Linked DNA regions of Homo sapiens: all the other regions are linked to region 2. Evidence: promoter capture Hi-C in human tissues and cell types (Jung and others, 2019). All regions are on one chromosome and are shown on one strand. Each heading gives the region's core, a stretch centred on a gene start or on the middle of the fragment in contact. The rest is flanking DNA. Distances are from core to core; before and after follow the strand shown. Region 1 holds the start of MKRN2 (makorin ring finger protein 2). Region 2 overlaps ATG7 (autophagy related 7). Region 3 holds the start of TSEN2 (tRNA splicing endonuclease subunit 2).

The links. The method cuts DNA at HindIII sites, captures the fragments that hold promoters and counts their contacts. A contact is called where the count stands out against the background at its distance.
Region 1: a contact is called between the fragment with the promoter of MKRN2 here and a fragment that was not itself captured in region 2, in 1 of the 25 tissues and cell types used here (aorta).
Region 3: a contact is called between the fragment with the promoter of TSEN2 here and a fragment that was not itself captured in region 2, in 1 of the 25 tissues and cell types used here (dorsolateral prefrontal cortex).

The regions. Positions count from the first base shown.
Region 1 is chr3:12,554,580-12,558,535 of GRCh38, forward strand. It overlaps MKRN2 (makorin ring finger protein 2), which reads left to right and starts at 2,508. Exons shown (of 8, transcript NM_014160.5): 1 at 2,508-2,597. The coding sequence starts at 2,572. It also overlaps a transcript of MKRN2OS not described here. RefSeq lists enhancers at 2,128-2,237, 2,288-2,347, 2,735-3,258, 3,168-3,227 and a silencer at 2,518-2,607. The HindIII fragment of the contact is 5,756 bases long and covers 1-3,956 here.
Region 2 is chr3:11,380,984-11,385,034 of GRCh38, forward strand. The region is part of intron 19 of ATG7 (autophagy related 7); the gene reads left to right. Among named protein-coding and RNA genes, the nearest start is that of ATG7, 110 kb to the left of the region's middle. The HindIII fragment of the contact is 5,508 bases long and covers 1-4,051 here.
Region 3 is chr3:12,482,361-12,486,271 of GRCh38, forward strand. It overlaps TSEN2 (tRNA splicing endonuclease subunit 2), which reads left to right and starts at 2,120. Exons shown (of 12, transcript NM_025265.4): 1 at 2,120-2,520. RefSeq lists an enhancer at 2,044-2,463. The HindIII fragment of the contact is 10,904 bases long and covers 1-3,704 here.

The sequences.
Region 1 (3,956 bases), core at 1,258-3,757, 1.2 Mb after region 2:
TTGCACAGACACCCTAAAGGGCACCAGCAGTACAAGGCTGATGAAATAACTTATGGCATAGTCGTACAACGGAATACTATACAGTTCTACGAAAGGAGGAAGAGGCTCTATGTACTGATATGGAAAAATCTCCACTGATTATGTACGCTGTGCAGAACAGTACGTTATGTTATCTTTTCTACAAAAAGGAGAAAATAATATATATGTATTTACTTGTGTATATTTAAAGAAATTCTGGAAAGATGTATACAAATTTGATAACAGTGGCCAGGTTTTGAGGTTTTAAAAAATGTTTCTGCTTTTTGTTTTGAAGAGGCGGGAACTAAATTGACAGGAGACTGAGACTTTTCACTTTACGCTTTTAAAATATTTGAACATAATAACGTTCAGATCGTGAATGTATTCCATAAAGAATGAGATAAGCTGAATTTTAAAAATAAGTGGCATGGGCTGGGCGCGGTGGCTCTCGCCCGTAATCCCAGCACTTTGGGAGGCCGAGGCGGGTGGATTGCCTGAGCTCAGAAGTTCGAGACCAGCCTGGGCAACAGGGTGAAACCCCGTCGCTACTAAAACACAAAAAATCAGCTGGGCGTGGCAGCGTGCGCCTGTATAATCCCAGCTACTCCGGAGGCTGAGACAGGAGAATCGCTTGAACACGGGAGGTGGAGGTTGCAGTGAGCCAAGAGCATGCCACTGCACTCCAGCCTGGGTGACAGAGCAAGACTCCGTCTCAAAAAAAAAAAAAAAAAAGACGTGTAATTTTTATGAGCATGAATTGCATGGATCAAATGTGTTATGAGTTAAAATGCAATATTCAAGACACTGAAAACAAAATTTCCAGTATACTTCCAAATTCCTGAGAAAAATTTCAAAAGTTCTAAATAATTGGAAGTATATACCATGCTCATTCATTGGAAGACTCAATATTTTTATAGCAAAGTAAAAAAAGAACATACAGCTATACATACATAACATGGAAAGATCTCACAGATAAAATGTTGGTCAAAAGAAGGCAGACAAAAGCGTAGGTACTGAATTATTATTTATATGAAAGTCAAGAACAGTTAAACTAATTTATAGTGATAGAGATGAACCCAAGCAATGACCTTTGTAAAGTATTGCCTGGGAAGGACCATAAGGAAGCCCTTCTGGGGTGTCGATAATATCCAGCCCCCACCCACCCCCTGCAGCCTCGACTGCAGTGAACTATGCTCAAAGGATCCTTCCGGCTCAACCTCTCCTTACTCCAGCATTTTGAAGTTTAGTCGAGCATGGTGTCGCGCACCTGTATTCCCAGCTGCTGGGGAGGTTAAGGCAGAGGACTGCTTGAACTATGATGGCGCCACTGCACTCCAGCCTGGGCGACAGAGCAAGACCCTGCCTCAAAACAAAACAAAAAATTCTTTATTTTGATCTGGGTGGTAGTTTCATGAGTGTATGCATGTGCAAAAATTCATAGAATGTGTTTGGTGCACTTATATTGTGCATGTTATGTATCTCGAGTTTTTAAGCAATGAGAAACCATTGTAAGATTAAAAGGTGAATGACATGATCCGATTTATGTTTTAAAAATAGATTTTTACCAGGAACGGAAGCCAGAAGACCAGTTAAAAGGCTATCGCATGGCTGGCCAGGCGTGCACGCCTGTAATTCCAGCTACGTGGAAGGCTGAGAGGCAGGAGAATCGCTTGAACCCGGGAGGCGGAGGTTGCAGTGAGCCGAGATCGCCCCACTGCACTCCAGCCTGGGCAACAAGAGAGAAACTCCGTCTCAAAAAAATAAAAAATAAAATAATAATAATTAAAAAAAAAGGTATCGCATGGTGCTAGGTAGAAGGGACGGTGGAAAGGGGGCAGAAGAGGACGCATTGGACAGAGGTGTGGGAGCAGAATCTGCAGGGTATAGAGAGCTAGAGGGAAGTGTCAAAAATAACTTTTGGGGTTTCCACCATAGGAAATGGAAGACGAGCAGCACAAGACTGGCAGGAAAGAAAATGAAGACTAAAACTTGTGGAAGTAGAGATTTGGGGAAAGAGCAGTTGGGAGAGAGCTAAGGAATTTCCTTAAGTGGGAGGCGAGGTCCGGCGGGAACAGTTGAGGCAGGGCCTGAGAAGGGTGCCCAGTGAGTGCGAGTATGAATGGATAGGGGCATCCGGGATTAAGAGGAGAGGCTGGAGTTTCCCCAGGAGTGGTGAAGTGCCTCGAAGGAGGCGGGAGATCCCTAAGGAATACTCTTGGCGATCGGGGCAGAATCGCAGGCACTAACAGTAGGCATCGGGATAAGACTGGCAGGACTAAGATGCCAGCCAGGCTCCGCCCCGGAGGCTTGGAAGTGCGGGACACCGAGAGCAGGGATGCCGGGACAGCCGGCCCGATCCCCGGTGCGGAACCAATTGTGACGACGGCTAGGTTACCCGCCGGCGCTACAAAGGTGCCACACCGGAGGGGCGGCGTGCGCCGGCGTGCGCCGGCGTGACGCGGCTACGCGGGATGGGCCGGGCCAGGGCCAAGGCCGAGGCGGCAGCGGCTGCGAGAGGCGGCGGCACGACGACGGTCCCTCAGCCCAGCCACCATGAGCACCAAGCAGATCACTTGCAGGTCAGTGCGCTGGAGCCAGGAGCTTCGGGCCGCTCCCCCAGGCCGCAGGGGGGCCGGTGCGCGCCAGTGCTGTGGTCCGGGAACCTGAGGCTAGAGCGGGACTCGGAAAGTTACTCGGCTGTTCGCGGCGGGGCTTTGCGAGGCAGAGCGAGCGCTGCCGCCACAGCCGGGGATCCGGGGGATGCGTGGCCGAGACGCTGGGCGAGGCCAGCGCGGGGGGCTACGCCCCGAGTTTGAAGCGTGGCCCCTGTGGGCTGGGAGGAAGGACGTCCTAGCCAGGGCCGTGCAGGATGCCGGGGCGCTGTCGGGAAGGCTCTGGGGCTTACGCTTTAACTGGAAAAGATTTGAAGTTGAGTAAAGGGACGCCGAGAGGACGGTTACAAATGGGGATACCACATAGGAGTAATTTGTTAATCGATTATGAGGGCCTCAAAGTTTGGAGAATCCAGATGCAATCTAAACTTGCAGAGAGTTAACAAGTAAAAGTTGTTGTGTGGAAAATAACGACAGGTAGCATATTGTGAATATCGGCGAAGCGCCCTGCATATTTCCAAGTCCTTTATATTCATTATCATCAGACTTCACAGTAAGACAACTTAGTAGTTATTATTACCATTTTACAGTGCAGGAAACTGAGACCGAAAGACGTTGACACTCATTTATCTTACTGAGAGAGCCATTTACGAGGAGAAATGCGACGGTAATGGATGGTTTATTGTAGAAAATAGCCAGATAGCTACACTACGACTGCTCCTATGAAATAGAATAGTGTGGTTGTGTAACACCCTCATTGCTTGGTCAGCTTGTGGCTTACTGGTAATGGAGTCTAGTCCTATTGAATTGTATGTTTGGAAAACGCAAATTGAATTGTATGCTTGGAAAATGCAAATTTCATTTAATAATTTTTATGGGAAACATTGCTTAAAAACAGTTATAGAGTTTGTGTAATAAACAGTTTATTTTCTATGTTGTTACTTCTCTTCATTGGTATGAATAGTTGAGACGTGACTGTGTAGTAAGTTTTCTGTTAGCATTAGTGTACATTTACTGTTCAATTTATCCAAGGCCCAGGTGGCTTATGTTAAGCTGTTGTCAGAAATTTGCACCTAGTGTCTATAAAAAGACTTTTACTAGGTTATTTGTACTAGAAGGTGTTTTGTGAAGACGGGTTTGTGTGTGTTTACGTATTTTTATTTGTATAAAGTTTCTCCTGCTGGAGGAAGTATTCCTAGGTCATTGTGCACTGTAAAGCAGCTTGTAGCCTCCTAGAAAAACCTCTGTATTCCTCCCCTCGCTCTATGGTTTAATTCTACCATTTATTCCCGTACCTCATCTAAGAAGTGTCCACAAAACAGTACA
Region 2 (4,051 bases), core at 860-3,359:
CCAGTTTCTCTAAAAATTGAATGTAGAATTGACAAGCAATGTTGATAAATTTGGTTACGTTTAGATGCTCAAAAATTGAGACTAATTATTTTCTTTTTGCTTCCGAAGTAAACTAAGCCTGTTTTATTATGCATCCCAAGTGCCTATGTTGAGATTTCAAGCTTAGACTTTGTCAGTAGTTACCCATGAGCCCATTCTTTCTGTAGTTTCCTTTAAGATATATCTGCTCAAGCCAGGACCTCAAGGATGTCTGCATGCACCCCCATCTTCAGAAATGCAAGTTTTAGGATTGTATACTACATCTTTAGTGGAGCAGATTTTTTTTTTCTTTGAATGGTTGAGCTAACTGGTCTCAAAATAACTTGGCAGTATTAATTTTCATACTGAAATCATTTGGCACAGGTGCCAGGTTTTCTATGGCTTTATGTTGGTCTGGCTAGTCAATGAAATAAAGATAATTGGGTTCTCTAAGTGAAATGCAAACACTCATTCATTCTTGTTCTATTTCTAATTAAATTAGCCTTTCAGATACTGTTTATAAAAGAATCACAAGCATACCATCTAACTGGGCGTTCCTTATACTTTAAAAGAGAATAGCTTAGCATTTTTCTTTCACACTTATTGTAAGCTTTTAATTAAATATAGGTATCACTTTTTTGTTAGCAAAATTATTTCCTCTTGGTGATCATTTTGAGAGTCCTGCTTTACATAAACATGTTGGACGATTTAATACAAACTGACTTGGATTTTAACAGCTGTGCTATTCCCATAGCGGTCACTTTTCATGTGGTCTGAGTATTAAATTTCTTTTGTCCTGGAAAGGTTGCTTCATTGGTGCACGTATTTCCTTACAGTAGAAACGCAGCATTTACTTACTTGGCTACCTTCTTTATTTGCTTAGGAGATTGTCATTCTCTATTATCTGCAAACCCAACATTAATACTTTAAAATGACAAATCCAATTACATTTTCATTTCTGTGTATTTGAATTTTTCTTAATGTATATTTAGTATAATACATGTTATACAGAGTCATGTCATAGTTGTTGTTTCAAAAGATTGGGGCTAAAAATTACTTTTAAAAATTTATCCTTTGACATTCATGAAGTAATTTTTTCCTTTGGTAGTTTTCAGTATGTTTCCTCCTCCCCACCAGGATCAAGGCCATGCTTGTGTCTTGATTTAACCACAAATAGAGACAGACTGGGGAAGTAGAATAAGTTTCTGCTGAATAGTGAAGCACTTGTTCATTATCTTATTTATTAAAAACAAACAAAGCAATACATTATATACACATATATATAGAGAGAGAGAGTGCGAGCACGCACGCACGCGAGCGAGAGCTTTTTATGTAGCCTGAGGTGGGGAAGAATACAGTGCTTTGCTTCTAAAGCAGGAAAGTTGGAACATTTATCCATAAATCATTTCTTATCCTATGTGATCTTAGGTTGGCACATAACGAGGTGAATTGTTCCATCTTAGGGGAAAAATATTGAAGGATGGTGGGGAGAGGTGGGTGGTGAGGAGTCACTTTCATTCCAGTTTCTACTTATTGTCTTGCAGAACTTTCTAAACAGATGGTATTTGTCAATGAAATTTCAAAAGACCTTATTTGACGTTTATATGAGTTGCTCTTTACTTCTACAAAGAAATTCCAAGCTAACTAGAGTATTGTGGTGTTACTACCAGAGGGAAAAGTATAATTTTTAAAATCAATATTCCTGAAAGAATTTCCTGTAGTGCATTAAATTACTTTGTTATTGTTAGACTTTCACCTAAATATTTTTTGGCAGAGTATTTTTGGGTAACTTTCTATTGATATAATTTTAAGCTTAACAGAAACATTGGAAGAATAGTACAAGGAACTCCGGTATACACTTTACCCACATTCATCCATTGTTAACATTTTGCCCCACGTATATTTGCTGTCGTCCTCCAATCCCTCCTTCTTCCCTTCCCCTACCCCATTTTTTTCTTGAAATTTTGAGAGTAAGTTGGAGACATTCTGATCCTTTAAAACTGAATGCTTCAATGTGAATTCCAAAGAACAAAGACATTCTCTTACCTAAACACAATATCCTTATCAAATTCAGGCAATTTAATGTTTGCACAATACTATTTTCTAATCCACAGTCTGTGTATTCAATGTTGTTGTTTATACCAGTTAATGTTCATTATAGGTTTTTTCCTTCCAGACCAGGATCCAGTTGAGGATCAAACATTGCATTTAGTTGTCGTGTCTCTGGCTCCCTTCAATCTGGAAAAGTTACTTCATCTTTCTTTATCTTTCTTAACTTCAGTGTTTTGATATTTTGCCAGTTATTTTTGTAGAATTTCCCTCCATGTGGATTTGTCTGATGTTTCCCTATGATTCGATTCAGGTTATGAATTTTTGGTGGAAATACCAAAGAAGTGATGCTGTCTCCTCATGTCAGGAGTTATATAATATATTATATACCTTTCGGTGATGCTAGTTTTCCCTTTTCCATATTTCTGACTACCTTCTCCAACAGTGAGAAACCTGCAATCTCGGCTCACTGCAACCTCCGCCTGCCTCCCAGGTTCAAGCGATTCTCCTGCCTCAGCCCCACAAATAGCTGGGACTACAGGCACTTGCCACCATGCCTGGCTAATTTTTTGTATTTTTAGTAGAGACAGGGTTTCACTCCATTGGCCAGGCTGGTCTCTAACTGCTGACCTCGTGATCCGCCCGCCTCAGCCTCCCAAAGTGCTGAGATTACAGGCGTGAGCCACCGCATCCAGCCGTATCCTGGATATATTTACTCACTTGCTGAAGTCTAGAATAATACAGGAAGTAGTTTCAAAATTGCTAGCCCATACTACTACAGAAAATAAACCTAGAACCTTCAGTTCCTATTTGTGCATAGTTCTTTTTTTCCTAGGTAAAATTTATATATGGTGAAATGTATGAATCTTAAAACAACTCCGTAAGTTTTAACAAATGTATACACCCATGTAACCCACACTCTTCCTATCAAGATATTAGTGTTTTTCCATCACTCCAGAAAGTTCCCAGGTACCCTTTCCCAGTCAATTCTGGGGGAAGGGGAAGTATGTTGTATATTATGACTAGTCCTTCTCTAAAAGGAGTAAAGCTAGGCAGCTTCAGGTGTTCTTTGCAATAATAACCTTGTTTCTGGTACCCAGAAGTTGACCAAAACCTTTTTTCAGACCTGCAGAGTCAGGAGCAGGACTGTGCAGGAGGAGACTGCGTGCAGAGTATTCTTGCTCTTGTTGCACAATTCTATTACTCACAACCTTCTTGATAGTGCAAGAACAGCCTGTTGTGAAGAATCAGGCTCCAAACTTGGTTTGCATACCATCTGGGACCTGCGCAGATGCAGCAAGATGTGCCCAGAAACCTGATCTTGAGATTTCAGTGATTAGCAACCTTAATAATACACTCATTCTGGTGTTGACTATGCAATAGGTTCTTCTGTTGATGGGTTATGATTAAACTCCTCAAAGTGACTTGCTATTAGCTTTCTGTGTGTATCTGGGCATATATCTTGAAGAGTGATAGGGTAAGGGTTAGGTAGGAATAATAAATGTCAGCTGGTAAATCGTACTTTGTTTTGGCCTTGGTTATAGCCAGCCTGTCCATTTATTTTTTTGATATTATATAATCCTACCTACCTTCTATCATGTTTTCTTGTTACTTATGAAGCATGAAAGGCTAGGCATGGTGGCTCACACCTGTAATCCCAGCACTTTGTGGGGGCTGAGGTGGGCAGATCACCTGAGCCTAAGAGTTTGAGACCAGCCTGGGTAACATGGTGAAATCCTGCCTCTACAAAGAATACAAAAATTGGCCAGGTGTGGTGGCCTATGCCTGTAGTCCCAGCTACTTGGGGGGCTGAGGTGGGAAGATCCTTGAGCCCAGAGGTTGAGATCATGCCATGGCACTATAGCCTGGGCGACAGAGCAAGACTCTGTCATGCCCATGCCCCAAAACCCCCGCCAGAAAGAAGCATGAAATAACAAAAAGTCAACTTAGCTGCTTAAATAGTGTTTTTGTTTGTTTGTTTGTT
Region 3 (3,911 bases), core at 870-3,369, 1.1 Mb after region 2:
TCCACCCGCCTCAGCCTCCCAAAGTGCTGGGATTACAGGCATGAGCCACCGTGCCCGGCCAGAAGTGATGATTTATTGGACTGTTTTCTCTACTTTTGTGTTGTATGTTTGAAAATAACCATATCAAAGGGTTTAAAATGCACTTGAGAAAGTCTTGGGGAAAATTTCTTTCTTTTTTAAAATTTACAGATTTTTTTTCTTTTTTTAATTTCTTTTTTTATGTTTTTGGGAGGGGAATTTGAGATCCCATTATCAGCAAACCCCAAATCCTTCCACGAGCTGGGATGGGATTTAAGAGACCTGGCTCTAGTCTCAGCCCCACCTCAGACCTGCTCGGTTATCTCTGACAACTCACAGTGCCACTGGAACTGTTTTCTTATCAGTTAAATAAGGAAGTTTAACTGGACAACCTCTGAATCCCTTTCATTGTTAAAGCCCTCTAATTCTAAAACCAGTATTTCTTAAATTGGCATGTTCTGGTCGGATATTACAGCCTCTCTTCAGCTGTCTCTCCCCTGCCCAATCCATCCTGTTACCATATCCTGTGACTCTTGCCAATTTTCTCCCTTTCTTTTGCAACATTCTTACCACAAAGCTCTTTGATTTTGGTTTATCTAAAACCTGAACTCCCTAGCCTAGCAGTGAAGGTCCTTGCAGCAGAGGACCCACTGAATGCTGCGACATGATCTCACTCTACCAAGAGCAAGCCCACAGTGCAGTTCAAAAAGGGCCAGGCAGGATGCAGTGGCTCAAGCCTGTAATCCCAGCACTTTGGGAGGCCGAGGCGGGAGGATCGCTTGAGGTCAGGAGTTTGAGACCAGCCTGGCCAACGTGGTGAAACCCCGTTTCTACTAAAAATATAACAATCAGCCGGGCGTGGTGGCAGGCGCCTGTAATCCGAGCTACTCGGGAGGCTGAGGCAGGAGAATCACCTGAACCTGGGAGGCAGAGATTGCAGTGAGGTAAGTGAGCTGAGATGGTGCCACTGCATTCCAGCCTGGGCGACAGAGCCAGGCTCCGTCTCAAAAAATAAAAAGGGCCAGAAAAACAGGGACAACACATGCCATGCCAGACTACTGCAGAGCACAGAGGCAAGTCACCCAAGCAGGTCTGGGAAGGCAAGAAGTCTCCTGGAAGAGGTGATATTTGAGCTGAGACCTAAAGGCTGACCAGGAATTACTGCAGCTAACAGAGGGGAGGGAACATAGAGGCAACAGCATGCGTGAAGGAATGGAGGCAAGAACATTGGCAGAAGTCCAAAATTCAACATCCATCATCACATCTAGCACCATGAATCTCTCCAGCAGTATTTGCCACACTTCCTTGCCATCCTCCTTTGCCTCCTGCTTAGTCTGTGTGGTGGAACTCCTGTGATTCATATTTGGGAAAGTATATATTGGACTCCCCACAGGGCTCCTTTAAAATAACCAGGTCAGGAGAAACTTACACTTCCTATTGCACTCCAGTTTTGCTCATCTCCCGTAATTCTGATGGCCCATTTTTCAGTAAACTCAAGCTCAGAAAGGTTGTCAGTCATTCAAGCTCACGCAGCCAGTGAGGGGGGAAAATGGGGATGCAGAGCAGGTGGACCTGCCGCCTATTGTCCCTTAACTGCACAGGCAGTCTGGGCACACAGAGGCTTCTGGCCAGGTGTCTGCCAGAGAAAACGTCCTTGCAAGTTCCCCGCATGCTGCAGCGTACACAGGTGCGCTGCTGTGATCCTCTTTCTACATTGAGAAAGATGAGATCAGTTTCCTCAGGGCCATTTAATAAAGTCCTGTCGGTCGCCTCAAACATCCCATCCACCGAGGGCCGAAGATTCTAGGTCTCTCCCACCTCCCACGTGACTATGTGACATTTGACGGGTAACTGCATCTCATCTGTAAAATGCGTCTTGCAGGATCGTTCTGGCTTCCGTACAATCCTGCAGAGAGCAGCAAAGCGCGCACGCAGCCTCCGCCTCATACTCCGCAGTGGCAGAGCTGGCGCACAGAACACCCGCCAGCCGGCCGTGCGCAGGCGCACTCCGCCAAGTCCCGACGGGAGCTCTGCGGCTGCGCACTCGGCTGGCTTTGCGGCCGCACTGCTTGACGGCAGCGGTGTCCGCCCCACGGCCGGCGTTGCCGGGGTAACGGCGAGCGCGTGGGGCCAAGAAAGGTAAGGGCCCTGGGCGAGGAAAGCGCGGCCCTTTCCGAGTTTGGTGTTTTGCAGCGAAAGGAAATCTCGCTCTTCCGAAAGTCCTCCAGGGCGAGAGAGGAAAGGGCCTAGGTACTGTGCTGGGGTCGCACAGCCGGCCGAGACAGTGCCGGGACGGGGAGCCAGGCTTCCGAGTGCGCCCGGTCACTGACTCCTCCGCGCTTTCCTCGTGCGCCTGCAGCCCTTGGTTCTTGGAAACGCCGGCGCCTTGTTCAGGGCTGGTGGGGCTGGGGCGCAAGGTGCAGCTGACAATGCCCGAGAGGAGCCGCAGCCTCTGGTGGAGTTCGGTCGGGTGTGGGGGTAGTCAAGGAAAGAAGCAAAGGGGTAAGACAGGGAGTTAGGAATTGGCGGGGCCCCTAACGCTGTTGGGGTGCGCAGTTTATTTTATTTGCAGCTGTCGTCTGGTGAGCGCTTTCCACGTGGTAGGCCCCGAACGAAACGCCTTCTGCAAAATTATGCATTTAATCCTGACAACAACTTTCAAAGGCTGGTCATCTGTTTATATGGCTTATTCTCAGGTTCTAACTTGAAAGCTCCCCAGAGGCAGGATTGTTTACCTTGTGCCTTTCATCCTTGCCTCCCTAAGCCCAGGAGGTGCGCAGATGGAGCTTGAAGCGTGTTTTGGTTGGGAGAAGGTGAGATTTGCTGGGTAGGAGGTTTTTTAACCAGGTTTGTTTGGCACCTAGTCCAGGAAGGTTGGAAAATTAAATGGAGCCACCTCTCCCTTTTTTGTTTTTCTAATAGACATTTACCATCACCTAAGAGGTGTTAGCCTGTGTGCTCGAGGGAAGAATAAGAAACAGACTCTGCTTTTAATAGAAAGTAAGAATATGCAGCTCTGGAGTCAGGTTGCGCAGGTTGGGGAAATAAGAAGTAAAGATTTCTCAGGGGTGCGCCCGGCCCCTCCGAGTCACTTTCCACATCTGTACAATGGAAATAAAAATAGTCTTTACCTCCGGGGGCTACTGGGATTAAGTGAATTTGAATAGACCTTGCTGTTACCAGTGGTTAGCTATATGTTAAAATCAGCTGGGTCCACCCAGGAAATTCTGATGTAATTGATTGCAGGTGAGGCCTGGGCATGAGGAGTTAAGGGTAGGTAAGCTTGAGGGCCACTGTGTGATGTACCACTCCCAGGTTTAATTTTCTTAATCTGCATTTTTCAATCATCATTCTAAATAACCTGCAGTGACTCCAATTCCAAACCAACCTTTGCATCCCAAACCTCTTGACAACTGACCCAGTCTTTCCTATATGTTTTTGTGCACCTCAGGCACCGCTCTTCTTTCATATCTGTGGAATGAGGATAGTACAGTCAGCTCTCGCTATCAGGTTCCGAATCTGTGGATTCAACCAATGTTGCATCAAAAATATTTGGAAAAAGAAATTTAAAAATATATATATATAACAATTATTTAGTATTTACATTGTATTAGGTATTCTAAGTAATCTAGAGAAGACTTAAAGTAGATGGGAGGATGGGCATAAGTTACATGCAAATACTACATTTTATTTAAGGGACTTGAGCTGCGGATTTTGGTAGGGGGTGAGTCCTGGAACCAGTCCTTCTGTGGATACCAAGGGATGACTATAGTACCCACATGTGCAGCACATGCAGTGAGTGCCTCTGGCATCTGGTACCTACCTATGACAGTTTCCTCTTCTTATTTTACTCACATCCCACCTCTTACAGCATGCTGTTCTGCCGCGACACT